Regions from separate parts of the Homo sapiens genome. Here region 1 is linked to region 2. Evidence: promoter capture Hi-C in 16 types of primary human blood cells and fetal thymus (Javierre and others, 2016). All regions are on one chromosome and are shown on one strand. The core of a region is centred on a gene start or on the middle of the fragment in contact, and the rest is flanking DNA. Distances in the headings are between cores, read along the strand shown.

Region 1 (7,158 bases), core at 3,022-5,521, 380 kb after region 2:
CCTTAGCCTCCCAAAGTGCTGGGATTACAGGCATGAGTCACTGCACCTGGCTACCCTTTTTTATAGATAACTTTTTTTTGCTTTGGTAGAGTATATCCTCAAATTTTTTCTGGAAGAGTCAATGGATGATAACCTTTCCGAGTCCTTGCATGTCTGAAAATGTCCTAAAACTCTGAAGATGCGCTCAGGAATCTTTATGTATGACAAGTTCTCTAGAGTAGTTTTATGTATACCACCATTTTATTTTATTTTAATGAGGATGATCCCTTTATTTGACTTGAGGATGGAGAAGAAGAGGATTATGAGGTCACGGGAATGTCTCATGAGGAATTACCCAAAGCTGGTAACACCAGGTGCTCTGCCAGGAGGACTCTCTGGAAGGGGCAGCCAGCTCACAGATGCCCTGGATCCCTCGAGGCCAGTCACTAAAAAGTTATGACCATCCCCTTCTTGCCAGTCTGCCAGGGCTCCAGGGGGGAAAAGTGGAAAATTATCTGGTCCTGGCCCAGGGCCAGCTCCTCGGTGAGGAACTCGAAGAAGTGGGTGCTGTGGCTGCGGTTCTCCTCAGTGGTGTCCATCATGCTGGTGGAGGAGATGAACAGCTGCGCCCAGGGCTCAGTGGACCTACTCAGCACCATGGTCAGGCCCGCTACACCCATCATGTTCACATGCTGCCCTTGTTCTGTGCTCCCTGGCCCATGCTCCCATCCTTGGGTTTGCCCAGGATGGAGGCTGTGGCGCAGAGCCATTTCTCCAACCCTGCAGGCACTTGGTTGGCAGGCAAGTTCGTGTCTAGCTCTAGGAAGGGCATGGGCTGTAGAAAAAGAGACCCATTCTTTTAGAGAGTATTTTTCTAGCCTCATATGAAGGCAAAACAAAGGCCTGCTACTTTTGTGAGTTGTAGGATAATTCTGCAGATGAATTTTTTTCAGTCACACACTTTGATTTTGATACCCTTTATTTGCTAGAGTACTACTTAAGGGGTGGTAAAAATATTAATATCAGCTTTGGCTTTTTCCTGTATATTTTATCTTAACAATGTCATCACATCCATCTTTCATCTTCCAGAAGTTCACGGTAGTTCTTAGTCCAGTAATGCAGTACTCTGTCATTTTTCAGCACTTTTATACCTTTTTACTGCCATTCCATATATTTATGTGGAATATATATATGGATATCCATATATATATATATGTATTTTCCTTTTAATTTGCAGAGGAGAGGACCAAAAACCCGTGTTCAATTTGCCTTTTTTAACTGGAAACCCTACTTTAATCTATATTTATTAGTGTTTTGCAAAGCAGGTTAATTTGTTTTTGTCTTTGCTTTTAGCAGGTTAATATTTCTTAATGTTTTATTTGGAAATAATTTCAAATTTATAGAAAGGTTATAAGAACAATAAAAAGAACTTCCCTGTATCTTTCACCTAGATTTACTGGTTGTTAACATTTTGCCACATTTATGCTCCCCCATATAGATAGGCATACACCTGTTTTTGTTTTCTGAACCATTTGAGTTAGTTGCAGATATCTTGTTCCTTTCCTCCTAAGCATTCTGTCATGTAACCACAGAATAATTATCAAATTCGTGAAAAAACATATAGAAATACTACCTAATATTTAGTCCATATTGAAATTTTACAAATTACCCAATACTATCCTTTATACTGTTTTTTTTTTCTGATTCAGTATCCAACCAGGATTGAGCATTGCATTTAGTTGTCATGTCTCTGTAGTCTCCTTTAATCTGAACTAGCTTCTGACTCAGCCTTTTGTCTTGAATGACTTTGATATTTTTGAATAGTACGGGCCAGTTGTTTTACAGTATGTCCCTCCTTTGGGTTTGTCTGTTGTTTGCTCATGATTCATTATGTTTTTGGCAGAATGTAGGAGCAGTGATCTTGTGTCCTTCTCAGTGCATTGCATCAGGAGGTGCATAATATCAGTTTGTCTGATTATTGATGATTTTAACTTTACTTGGTTAAGGTGGTGTCTACCAGGTTTTTTCACCATTTCCCCCTTTGGAATTTATAAGTAATCTGTGGAAATACTTTGAGGCGATGTAAGCATCTTTTTCGTCTTCGAACTTTCACTCAATAGTTTTAGCATCCATTGATATTTCCTGCCTGAATTAGTTATTACTATGTTAGTTGCTAAATGATGACTTTCTAATTCTTACTCCTTAATTTATTAGTTGACATTCCACTGTTAGAGCTTTTCCTTGTTATCAATGTAGACTCACAGATTTATTTTTATTCAAAGAGTTTTAATGTTTACTGTGATTGTTCATTTTGATGCTCAAATTGCCCCAGATTTAGCCAGTGGGAGCTCCTTCCAGTGTCTCCTGTGTCCTTTTGATGCATCCTCATCATTTTTTAGCATTTCCTACTTTCTGGTATAAGGCTATGTTCCATGTTCATCTTGGCCATCGGCCATTTCTCCAAGGAGCACTGGATCCTTTTAGTGGGGATTGATGTTTAGAAACCAAGATCTGGACAGCAATTCAGATTGATTCTTGAGTGCTTGCTCTGCTGTTTGGTTTGTCAGGTGTGTTCACCACATTTATTTTTAGCCTTTTGTAGTGGATGGAGAGAGCCCCAAAGCTCGTAGTATATGGATTCCATTGCCTTTAGTGGCTCACTGTTGAGAAGGCCTTTCTCCTCTGCTTTCTGTGTTCTTGTATTTCAAAACAGGGATTGACAGACACTGGTCATTAGGAAAGCAGTTCACTGTGTTTGTACATTGTGTATGTATATGTAAAGTTGAATATTGACTTCACGAATCCATATTTCTGGAGGAGCATATGGTTTTTCAGTTTTCTCAGAAGCATATCAAACTGACATCTACTTTTATATATTTATGTTTTTCACTAACAAATATCTCCATAATAATACTGCTTTTATTAGTTTTGGCATTATATTTCAAGTCAAACTTTATTTCAGGTAGAATTTTAAACCTAAAAATCTTTGGTGTATCTGTTAGATGAAAGCAAAATATAGTTTGTTAGTAAAATAAATTTGAAAAATTATCTTGAAATTCTTGCCAAGAATTTAATTGGGCCCAAATTTTTATATATATGCACACACACATGTATCTATAAACTTGGGAGAATTTGGTTAAGAAATAGAGATGTGGGAGGTCTACCTAGGCAAGGTGAAGAGATGAGAAGCGATAGGATATATGCTGAGAAAACAGTTAAGTTAGAGCGTTCATGTAGGGAAGGAGACAAAAATAAAAGGAAAGTTTGGGGCCTGGTGGCAGAAACTTCAAATGACCAGCTAAAAAGTTTAGGCAAGAACTTCAAGATAATTTTCTAGCAAGCAGGGCCTTTGAAAAGTAGGCAATTAATTATAAAACAAATATAGATAAAATGATGTCCTTTAATTATTCTGGGAAAGGGGACACAGCATTGCCCAGTGCTGGAGACTGGTCTGTTTCTCTCAAGCAACGAATAATTTGAATCATGAATTCCCACTTTCAAGGCAATGTCTTGCAATTACGTACGGCAATTCAGAGTGCTTGGAAAGTGTTTTGTTTTCTCAGATCTAGCCATTTAATATTTACTGCTTGCTTACAACTATACTCTGAACCTTATTTTAGGAAGTTGTACCCAATAAAAGGGTTTATTTAGTTTTCTGTCCAGGCAATGAAGCATATATGTGTTTTTACTTTGGGGGAAGTAAAGCAAATGAACTGGCATTTCTTGAGGGCCAGGTATACCAGGCAGTATGTAAGTAGCTTTATATATGCATCTCATTCAATCTTCACTACACCCTTACAAAAAAAGTAGTGACCATTTTCTTTTATAGACAAGAAAATCAAGGCTTTAAGGATCAAGTCTCAGGCATATAGCTTATAATTGTCAAAGAGGGTATCCAAACATGGGTCTGTCTGACAATTGCCAGTCATTCACAGTGTTACTCTTTGAAGCGCTCAAGTTTATAGTAAATGAATTGCTGTGCTGTTCATATACAAAAGCTTAAGGTTAGCAGATAATAAAAGATGGTGTGGATGGAGAGAGGAGTTACAAGTGATACTTGCTAGCATGCAAAAATAACAGAAAATGGGCCAAGAGGAGGATTCCTTATAGCCAGGCAGAAATGTCTGTTAGAATATGTAGGAAAGGATCACATCATCATAGAACTTGAGTGAATATGAGCCTAAGGGAAGATTCGTAGCAGTGATTTTATCAGAAGTGAGTCATCTGACAGTTCTAATCAGAATCACCCCCTTTATTATATAGCTGAGGTCATCCCTGTGCTTTCTCTGATGTTCCTGTTTCAAGAAGAGGTTGATTCCAGACAAGTGAAACATACCTGAAGATTCTGGTTTGGACATTATAAATGGTCTGACAAGAAAGTGAGCTTCAGATTTTAGAACTCAGTGATGGTGGTAATGTTAGAAATATTTAACAATCTGTGTTCTTTTATAACAGCACTTTGCAAACTTCCATTATACTAACCCTAAAGGGGAGGAAATTGAAAATGCCCTCAGGAGTCTTGAGACATCATTTGAAGTGATATGGGAGTAATATTTTTTTTTAAGTCTCTTGCTTTATATTTAGGGAAAGCTTTTGTTCATTTCCATATCTATTTGTTTTAATGAAAGTTAAATTATTTTACTGGTTGTCTCCCTACCCTCACCCTAAATTTTCAAGTACCATTGACAGCCTAGAAAGAGGGTGCTTGTTTTACTGTGACTTAGTAGGCTGCTACCCTTTGGCCTGGAACAGGTACCCCAGTGTGAGAAGTACCGTCTTCCAGGGTTTGTGCTGCCACAAAAGCATCTGCTGAGGCTCTATAGATAACACAGGGGGCGACCACATTCTTGTTGACTTTACCACACTTTGTGACTCCCTCACTTTTCATGTTCCTTCCCCCCCTCAGGTTCGGATTTCCTGTTTATCAAACTCCCATGGTTTCTTTCTTTCACTTGATCGGCATGACTTTTTAAGGGCGTGGTCTCTTGATCTGTCCCTCTAGTTTTATTTTTGGAGTTTCTTTTTTTGTCTTACCAGGGGAATGTAACCAAATATATCTATCTAATTCTAGCAGGTACATATTTTTTCCTCTTGATGCTGCTTAATATTTTATTGGAGGCACATTTACAGTATGTATGACCTTACAAATGGCAGGCTTAATATGGGTATTGTTTGTTTTGGGTCTCTTCTGGGTCTGGGTGGCACAGGTGGTGGTGGCAAATTGTCATTTCTGTCTCTTGGATGGAAGGAAACAAGCTCAGGCCAGTATATAAGAAAACTAGCTTCAGGTTGCGAATGAGTGCCAGCTTATGTATTGTATTTTCTAGTTAACTCCCAGTTGACTTCCAATTTTTGCTACAGTCTTGAGTAGAGTTCAGTGCTTCTTGGGAATTTAATAGCAGCAAGGGTTTCCTTTGCAAAATATTTTTATACCTAAATCTTACATGAAAAGGGTTGTTTGCTGACTCACTGATTAACTAGACTTGGTTTATGTTAAGCCTTTGAGTCCTTTGTTACAGACATCATTTGTGCCCAAGTTGCTTTCTCCTCCTGAAACCCCATTGCTGACCTGTAACTAGTCTAATCTTGCTTGATTATACGTTTCCCCCGCCCCCATCCCTCTGTAAAACCATCTTTTGTACCAAATGCCGTTGTATCTTTTGAATGATGTCCACTACAAAATAGCTTTTTACATAGATCTTGTAGATTTTGAAAAATTTTTAACTAACATGTCATTGTATCTTCATAACAATTCTATGAGAGAGGCATTTATAAAATACAAAATAGCAATCCACCCACGGGGATGGCTGTTACGTATTTTGTAAATGAAGAAACAAGAAATGGGTGGACGCGACTTGCAGCTTAGTGGCAAAGCCAGGTTTGACCAGGTCTCTGGGCTTCCAGTCCACCAAACCTCTAGTAGTGTTTAGAAACATTTCTGGAAGTCTCCCAATTTTTCCAAAAGTAGGAAAAATTTATTATGTAGATTGAGTTGTCTTTAAAGAGACAGCTCTAAAATATTTTACGATTGATGTTGTTTTAAAAAATTGTCTTAAATTCAAGGAAGAAACGGTGTGTTTTTCTGAATACCCAACTAGGACCTGTCCCTATATTAGACAGATTAAAGATGTTTGCTTCCTAAGAACAAAGCAGACTGAATCAGAAAAGAGATTAGTGAGTGGCTAAGTTTTTATTTTTCTCCTTAGTTCTAGGGATAGTATTTTACCCCCTTGAAATAGTGTGAGAAGGTCATGGGTAGAAGGATCACACCTGTGATTCCTAATAGGAATTTCTGTTTCCATGAGGTTTCTCAAAAGTAGAATCGAGGTCCTTTAGCAATTGTAAGAGTTTTTAAACACCTATAGAAATGGTACATTTGCATAAAGTAAAGCTGTAGAACTGAAAATGTCCAACGTCTTTACTTTTGGCTGGAATTTTACGAGCCTGATTAGCTCTGCATGGCAGCAATGGGCATGTTAATTATATTTGAAAATTGCCGTTTGTTTGTAGACAAGGAGTCCATGAGGAGAGAAAATCAAGTGAATGTTCTTGAACTGTACTGCAGTGATGGGGAATGTCCACAAGGTGGCGCAAAGACTTTGTTTAACTGCTGGATTCCTAGCTAGCACCTGGAATACTTGAAGCCCCTTTCACCTTCTCCCTCTTTGCAAACTATGGCTCAGCTGCATCTGTGCCCTCAGTTCTGGTCCCCAGCTTCCCCTGAATCCCCTTCGTGCTGTTATTTGGGCTTTGTATTGGTACCTAACCACATTCTACCTGTAGTGAAAGCTGAAGGTCTTGGTTCCCACTCTAGGTGGTAAGTTTCTTGAGTGGAGGCACCAGCTGCATATACTTTAAAGCATATTCTTTTCTGTATTTCCAGCAATGCCAGGCACAGGACCTCTGAGTTGCATTGTTGAATTAACATCTTTTGGTTATTTGTGAGTTAATTGTGGACTTCCATAGGGTTCTCCCTCAGTATATTTTTGGCTTTGAAGAGTATGTTTATCTTCCCAGCTGCATAAATGAATTTTTGGGGTGAAATGGGGATTTTATGTTTGTAGTACATAGTTTCATAGACTTTACACCACACCCCGACCAACCACTTTCAGTAACTTCGAAGACAGTTGGTTATGGAAATCATTCCCGTGCACGGGTCTTCCCTGAAGCTCTGCAATT
Region 2 (7,207 bases), core at 2,433-4,932:
AGCAGTTCTTAAATCTACACATGAAAATAATTTAAGCACTCTTTACCCTGCAGGCGCTTAAAGGAAAGTTGACCAGGTCTCCTCCTGAGGGTCCTCCTTCCCCATGGTTCTGCCCTATCCCAAAGTCTCTGCTAGTGGGATATGACTGGAGTTCTCAGCTCAACTAGTAAAAAGGCTGAAAGTCACTTTTCAGCATTCTTACTTGATTACTCACCTGACAAATGAGGACAGAGTCCACACTCACAAAAGGCAAATGACAACCTGGCTTTGGCTAAAAATCAAGCTACAGAGAACTTCTGCTCCAGTCCCAAAGGTTTTGTGTATCGTGGCTCAGCACTTCAAAGTAGGGGAGAGGTTGAGTCCACAAGAGCAGGGAGCCAAGGACTCTCGTTGCCTCATTCTGGTGTCCAACCTTATCCTCCCCAACCTGCACACTGAGTTTCCTGGGGCCTGGGCCCAGTAAAGTGTCAAAATGGCCAACCCATGGCTAGAACTAGAAAAGTTTACCTCAGAAACTGGGCGATTCGGGCCATGATTGCCCCGGCCCCAGGCTGCAGCACATTTCCTGTGGACAACAAACTTTCATTCAGTGCCAGGCGGTGGTGTTCTGGGCACTAAAGTATAGCTGTGAAAACCAGAGATGAGGCATTCCAGATCTTTCTTCGGGACACTAGCCCTTGGCAGGCTCACTTGCAACTCTGGAACATCAGGGTTTGGGGCAGGGAGAGCCAGCCATACAACAGCTTGTCCTGGTCATCCACCAGCTCCTGTCCCTGAGGGTCCCACGCTCACTTGCCCATGCACCCAGCTTTTCCAAATCAGCACAGATGGGCAGGTTGTCTGCCCTTAAAAGTGAAATGGGAGTTTCTGAAAATGCACATCTCCCCAGGTATCCTCCTGTGAGCCCTGCTGTCACCCCAGAGAGGTGGAACAGTGATTGCCGACCTAGGGGTGGCATCCGCTGGATAAGACTCTTGCCATATCATATTGCTGTATTTCAAGGTGAGGGGTGGAATAGAGGGCTGGACTGAAGATTGTGGGGAAAAGAAAGATCAGATTGTTACCGTGTGTATGTAGAAAAGGAAGACATAAGAAACTCCATGTTGATCTGTACAAAGAAAAATTGTTTCTGCTTTGAGATGCTGTTAATCTGTAACTTTAGCCCCAACTCTGTGCTCACAAAAACATGTGCTATATTGAATCAAGGTTTAAGGGATTTAGGGCTGTGCAGGATGTGCCTTGTCAACATATGTTTGCAGACAGTATGCTTGGTAAAAGTCATCGTCATTCTCCATTCTCTATTAACCAGGGACATGATGCACTGTGGAAAGCCGCAGGGACCTCTGCCCAAGAAAGCCTGGGTATTTGTCCAAGGTTTCCCCCCACTGAGACAGCCTGAGATATGGCCTCGTGGGAAGGGAAAGACCTTACTGTCCCCCAGCCCGACACCTGTAAAGGGTCTGTGCTGAGGAGGATTAGTAAAAGAGGAAGGCCTCTATTTCCCGCACATCCCTGGGAACGGAATGTCTCGGTGTAAAGCCGACTATTGGTTCTATTTACTGAGATAGGAGAAAACCGCCCTGTGGCTGGAAGCGAAATATGCTGGCAGCAATACTGCTCTGTTACTCTTTGCTACACTGAGATGTCTGGGTAAAGAGAAACAAAAATCTAGCCTACATGCACATCTCAGCACAGTACCTTCCCTTGAACTTATTTATGATGCAGATTCCTTTACTCACATGTTTTCCTGCTGACCTTCTCCCCACCATCACCCTGTTCACCCCGTTTTGCCTGAAGAGGGCCTGCCCCTCCACACCTGTGGGTATTTCTCGCAAGGTGGAGACGAGAAACTGAGAAAAGAAATGACACAGAGACAAAGTATAGAGGAAGAAAAGTGGGCCCAGGGGACTGGTGCTCAGCAATTGAGGACCTACACCAGCACTGGTCTCTGAGTTCCCTCAGTATTTATTGATCACTATCTCTACTATCTTGGCAAGAGGGATGTGGCATTATATACCATTACTATAAGGTAATGGTGGGGAGGGGGTCAACAGGAAAAAATGTGAGCAAAGGACTCAGTGTCATAAGTAAGTTTAAGGAAAGGTGCTGTGCCTGGATGTGCACATAGGCCAGATTTATGTTTGACTTTACACAAACATCTCAGTGCAGTAAAGAGCAGTATTGCCGCCAGCATGTCTCACCTGCAGCCATAAGGCGGTTTTCTCCTATCTCAGTAAATAGAATGTATGGTTGGGTTTTACACCCAAGACATTCCATTCCCAGGGACAAGCAGGAGACAGATGCTTTCCTCTTATCTCAACTGCAAAGAGGCCTTCCTCTTTTACTAATACTCCTCAGCACCGACCCTTTACGGGTGTCTGCAAAGAGGCCTTCCTCTTTTACTAATACTCCTCAGCACAGACCCTTTACGGGTGTCGGGCTGGGGGACTGTAAGGTCTTTCCCTTCCCACTAGGCCATATCTCAGACAATCTCAGTGGGGGGAAACCTGGACAATACCCAGGCTTTCTTGGGCAGAGGTCCCTGCGGCCTTTCGCAGTGCACTGTGTACCTGGTTAATCGAGAATGGAGAATGGCGATGACTTTTACCAAGCATACTGCCTGCAAACAAATGGTTAACAAGCCACATCCTGCACAGCCCTAAATCCCTCAAACCTTGATTCAATACAGCACATGTTTCTGTGAGCACAGGGTTGGGGCTAAGGCTACAGATTAACAGCATCTCAAGGCAGAAAAATTTTTCTTAGTACAGATCAAAATGGAGTTTCTTCTGTCTTCCTTTTCTACACAGACACAGTAACAGTCTGATCTCTCTTCCTTTCCCCCACACTGCCGCACTCCCCTTGCCGAGATAGTGAAAATAGTAATCAATAAATACTGAGGGAACTCGGAGACCGATGCCGGTCACCTGGGCCCACTCTACACTTTGTCTCTGCGTCTTATTTCTTTTCTCAGTCTCTCCTCCCATCTGACGAGAAATACCCACAGGTGTGAAGGGGCAGGACCCCTTCAAAGGTCAAGGCCATGGAGGTTCCCCCAGTGAAAATTCGGGGCGGGGAGGTGAGGAGAGCTCTGGACGAACGGAAGAACGGGGAAGGCCCAGCGCAGGGCCTGAGTGGTTCGCTCACCGACACAGATGTCCCCCAGCTGTTCCGGCCTCAGATTCACGTCCTTGAGAACCGCGGTCATGACTGCCGAGAGAAGCTCGTCGGGGGTGGTGTCCTGCAGCAGAAAGAGCAGCCGCAGTGACCCCCACTCCCCCATGCCCACCCCAGGGAGACAAAGCGACCACAGCTGGGTGCGGAGCTGCCTCCGGCGTCCAGGATAACCAAACATACGAACCGGACCCCAGCCCGCGCCGGCGTCTTCCCACACTCGGCGCCCAGACCCTCGGGCCTCACCTTGAAGCCGCCGCGGCCCGCCCGGCAGATGGCCGTGCGCCGCCCGTGCACCACCACCACGTCCGCGGCCGAGGCCTGCGGGGCACCGCTCAGGCAAGGCGCGGCCTGCGGCATCCAGCCGGAATCGGCCGGACCCCTCAGGTGGCCCAGCACTACCTGCAGCCTCTGCATTGCGCAGGTCAACCCTGCAGACCAGCCACCAGTCCGGGAACTGACCGCGGAGTTAACAGACAGCCGTCCGCACACGCGCAGAACCACATCTCAGCCTCCAAGGCCTCAACTCCGCCCACAGCTCTGCGAACAGACGCGAGCGACCCTCCAAAAGTCCCGTCCACCTCCAGCCTCAGCCAACCACAAGGAGAGTCGGCCTGGGAACCCGCCCCTCCCCGCCACCGCCTACCAAGCCCTCTATAGGAGGGCCCACAGGCACCGCCCAGCCGAGCTTTCCACTCAATGCCCCGCCTACCTTGGCCTACCGCAGCCAACCAGAAGGTGTATCTTTACGAATCCCCGCCCAGAAATGCAGACCGGAAGTCTTTCCACCTTTTGTAGCCAAACCCGAGACCTGACCCCCAAATCCCTGTCTCCTGCCCGCAGCCAAACGGAAGGCTGGGCAGCCAGGACCGCTTACTGCTTGGGGGCTGGAGATGGAAGCCGAGGCTCTAATTCCTCTACCCACTTCCTAGGAGGCTCTGCTATCCCTCCGGTCCCAGTACCCGAGCTGGGGGACCTAAATACTTCCGAGACGCCCGAGTCCTGCTCCGACGTGGTTGGGCTTTCCCATTCTTTCGAGAAGACAGGGAATTTGGGCTTCCGGGCTGGCCGGGAGAACAGATTTTACAGACATGCGGGGTGTGACAAGCTCTCTAACTGGAGAATGAACATTTCACACTTTTACCAGTTTTACACCCAATTGGAATGATTTTATTAGTGCCCATTTCCCGTGCTAGGCTGGGGTCTCCACCAAGGCAGAGAGGTACCATGTATCCGGGGAGCCTGCGACACCCTTGACACTTAGTAGATGATCAATAAGTACTTGTCGAATGAGTAAATGAATGAACCAGGGCTCCCCAGGTCAGGACTGTGTCCCTAAACCTAAAGGGCAAGGCCACGTGCCCCCTTGACTCCCAATAGCAGGGCCATGTCTTCACCTGAGACCCTGGAGAGTAGTGCTGGGCTTTCCACAGACACCAAAGGACAGGGTGCCTTGTGCTCCCCAACCTAGTGTCATGACGTCCCCAACCATTTCGAGGGCAGGGCCACGGCATGCCTCAGGCTCCAGAAGGCAGCTGTCCGTTTCCCACTCCCACCTCGGGGAGCACAGCAGGGGTCTTCCCATACCCCTACTGGCAGGATTGCGTGTTCCCCAGAGACAGTGGAGGGCAGAGCTGGTGCCTTCCCACTTGTCCCCTCCTCGCCATCCTCGAGGGCAGGACCGTATGAACCCCTCAGATTCCTCCGTGGAAGAACTGTGGCTCCACCAGATCCCAAAAAGCAAGGCCCGTTTCCTACAACCCCCGAAGGAGGGTCGTCCTCACTCCGCCGCCAACCTACTAGCACCATCACCAGACCCTCGAGGGCGGTGCCGTGGACCTCTCCAGATCTCAAAAGGCAGATTCCTACTTCTTACGCCCCCCACATCACCCGCCTCGAGACCTCAAGGGTAGAGGTGGGCACCCCCGCCTCCGCACTTTTGCTCGGGGCTCCAGATTGTAGGGCAGGGCGGCGCTTCTCGGAAAGCGAAAGCCGGCGGGGCGGGGCGGGTGCCGCAGGAGAAAGAGGAAGCGCTGGCAGACAATGCGACCCGACCGCGCTGAGGCTCCAGGACCGCCCGCCATGGCTGCAGGAGGTCCCGGCGCGGGGTCTGCGGCCCCGGTCTCCTCCACATCCTCCCTTCCCCTGGCTGCTCTCAACATGCGAGTGCGGCGCCGCCTGTCTCTGTTCTTGAACGTGCGGACACAGGTGGCGGCCGACTGGACCGCGCTGGCGGAGGAGATGGACTTTGAGTACTTGGAGATCCGGCAACTGGAGACACAAGCGGACCCCACTGGCAGGCTGCTGGACGCCTGGCAGGGACGCCCTGGCGCCTCTGTAGGCCGACTGCTCGAGCTGCTTACCAAGCTGGGCCGCGACGACGTGCTGCTGGAGCTGGGACCCAGCATTGGTGAGGACGTCCCCTTCCTGGCCTCGTACCTGGGGGGTGAGGAGGCTGACTTTCCGCGGCCTCAGCATCCTGTCTCCCATGGAGAGACCCCATTTCCTGCCTCGGGGGCCCGAAGAAGCCTGCAGAGGGAGAACCATGCGGGTCCCGTTCCTTCTTAATAACCGGTCGCGGTTATTAAGAAGGACTGGAGAAAGGTCCGGATAGGCGGAGATGGGAAGGAAGCAGCTTAGGCAGAGGCTTTCAGGTAGGGCCAGGAGTCAGAATCAGGCTTCTGTGGGGGCATCTGGGCTGTTTCAAGTAGAGCAACAGGACAGGTGGGGCGATTGACAGTGGACTGTCTTAGAAACCTCAAGTCCTGGGGAAATGCAGCCCTTCTTTCTACTCACTGGCACTTACATAATATACATGCATAGGCGTTGGATACAGCCGCCCACAGACAGGCACACCTTGCTGAGTTGGAATCACTGCACCATAACCAGTGGGTCTCCTGAGCCTTTCTGGCATGCCCAGCCCCTTGCTCACATCTGCCCTGGATCCCAGAAGAAGCAGACCTACCTTGGTACCATTCTTAGGATCCCTAGGAAGGGACAGAGATACAAACCTGACTTTGATGGCCTTCCAGAAAGCCAGAACACCACTGACATCCCTTTGGGTCAGTTAGAGCCAGTGGGAGCTCAACTTCTCAGAGCCGTTGAGCTTCGCGTGGCACCAGTGAACTGGGGAAGCCCTCTAGAACAACCCAGCCAGAGGAGGTGGGACAGCGGCTGGATCCTGACTGTGGGTAAAGAGGTAGGCACTCCCAGGGAGGCTGCTTTACTCTGTCTCTTCCCCACAGAGGAGGATTGCCAAAAGTATATCTTGAAGCAGCAGCAGGAGGAGGCTGAGAAGCCTTTACAGGTGGCCGCTGTAGACAGCAGTGTCCCACGGACAGCAGAGCTGGCGGGCATCACCACACTTGATGACCCCCTGGGTAAGGGTCCAATACTGTTCCCATGGGACAGGTGGAATAGGACATTGTGGTGTTAAGAGCATGGGTGTTTGAAGCAGATGGGCTGTGAGACCTTGGGCAAGTCACTTAATCTTTCTGAGCCTCAGTTTCCTCACCTAAGAAATGGAGATAATAGTCCTACCTCTGGATTGCTGTGAGATGCTCATGAAATAATGTCTGTCTCGTGGTTAATCCAGAGCTTAGCCCCTGAGGTACTCATCTTTCCTCTCCTGGAAAGGGCACTTTCTCTGAGGAGTATCATCTTGGGAAGGGTGCAGGGCCCAGGGTTGCCTAGGCAGGGGACTCTTGGCTGGATCCCTCCCAAGCCTTCCCATGGAGCTCTGACCACCACCCTTGTGCTCTGCACCCAGGGCATATGCCTGAGCGTTTCGATGCCTTCATCTGCTATTGCCCCAGCGACATCCAGTTTGTGCAGGAGATGATCCGGCAACTGGAACAGACAAACTATCGACTGAAGTTGTGTGTGTCTGACCGCGATGTCCTGCCTGGCACCTGTGTCTGGTCTATTGCTAGTGAGCTCATCGAAAAGAGGTTGGCTAGAAGGCCACGGGGTGGGTGCGTGGATGCATGAAGCCCTGCCCTGGGGTCCAGATACTGGGCATCTCCTCCTAGCT

What was found. Contacts are between HindIII fragments. The CHiCAGO score rates a contact against its expected background, and 5 or more counts as called.
Region 1: a contact is called between a fragment that was not itself captured here and the fragment with the promoter of ACAA1 in region 2, in 5 of 17 cell types (naive CD8 T cells, total CD8 T cells, fetal thymus and 2 more). The highest score is 7.3, in naive CD8 T cells.

What each region holds. Positions count from the first base shown.
Region 1 is chr3:38,515,020-38,522,177 of GRCh38, forward strand. The region is part of intron 5 of EXOG (exo/endonuclease G); the gene reads left to right. It also overlaps the pseudogene DDTP1. Among named protein-coding and RNA genes, the nearest start is that of EXOG, 22 kb to the left of the region's middle. The HindIII fragment of the contact is 592 bases long and covers 3,976-4,567 here.
Region 2 is chr3:38,133,445-38,140,651 of GRCh38, forward strand. ACAA1 (acetyl-CoA acyltransferase 1) reads right to left here and starts at 3,683. Exons shown (of 12, transcript NM_001607.4): 1 at 3,421-3,683; 2 at 3,148-3,241; 3 at 508-565. The coding sequence starts at 3,591. It overlaps MYD88 (MYD88 innate immune signal transduction adaptor), which reads left to right and starts at 5,217. Exons shown (of 5, transcript NM_002468.5): 1 at 5,217-5,584; 2 at 6,420-6,554; 3 at 6,944-7,124. The coding sequence starts at 5,257. RefSeq lists enhancers at 4,798-5,741, 4,901-5,310, 5,811-5,940. The HindIII fragment of the contact is 10,893 bases long and covers 1-7,207 here.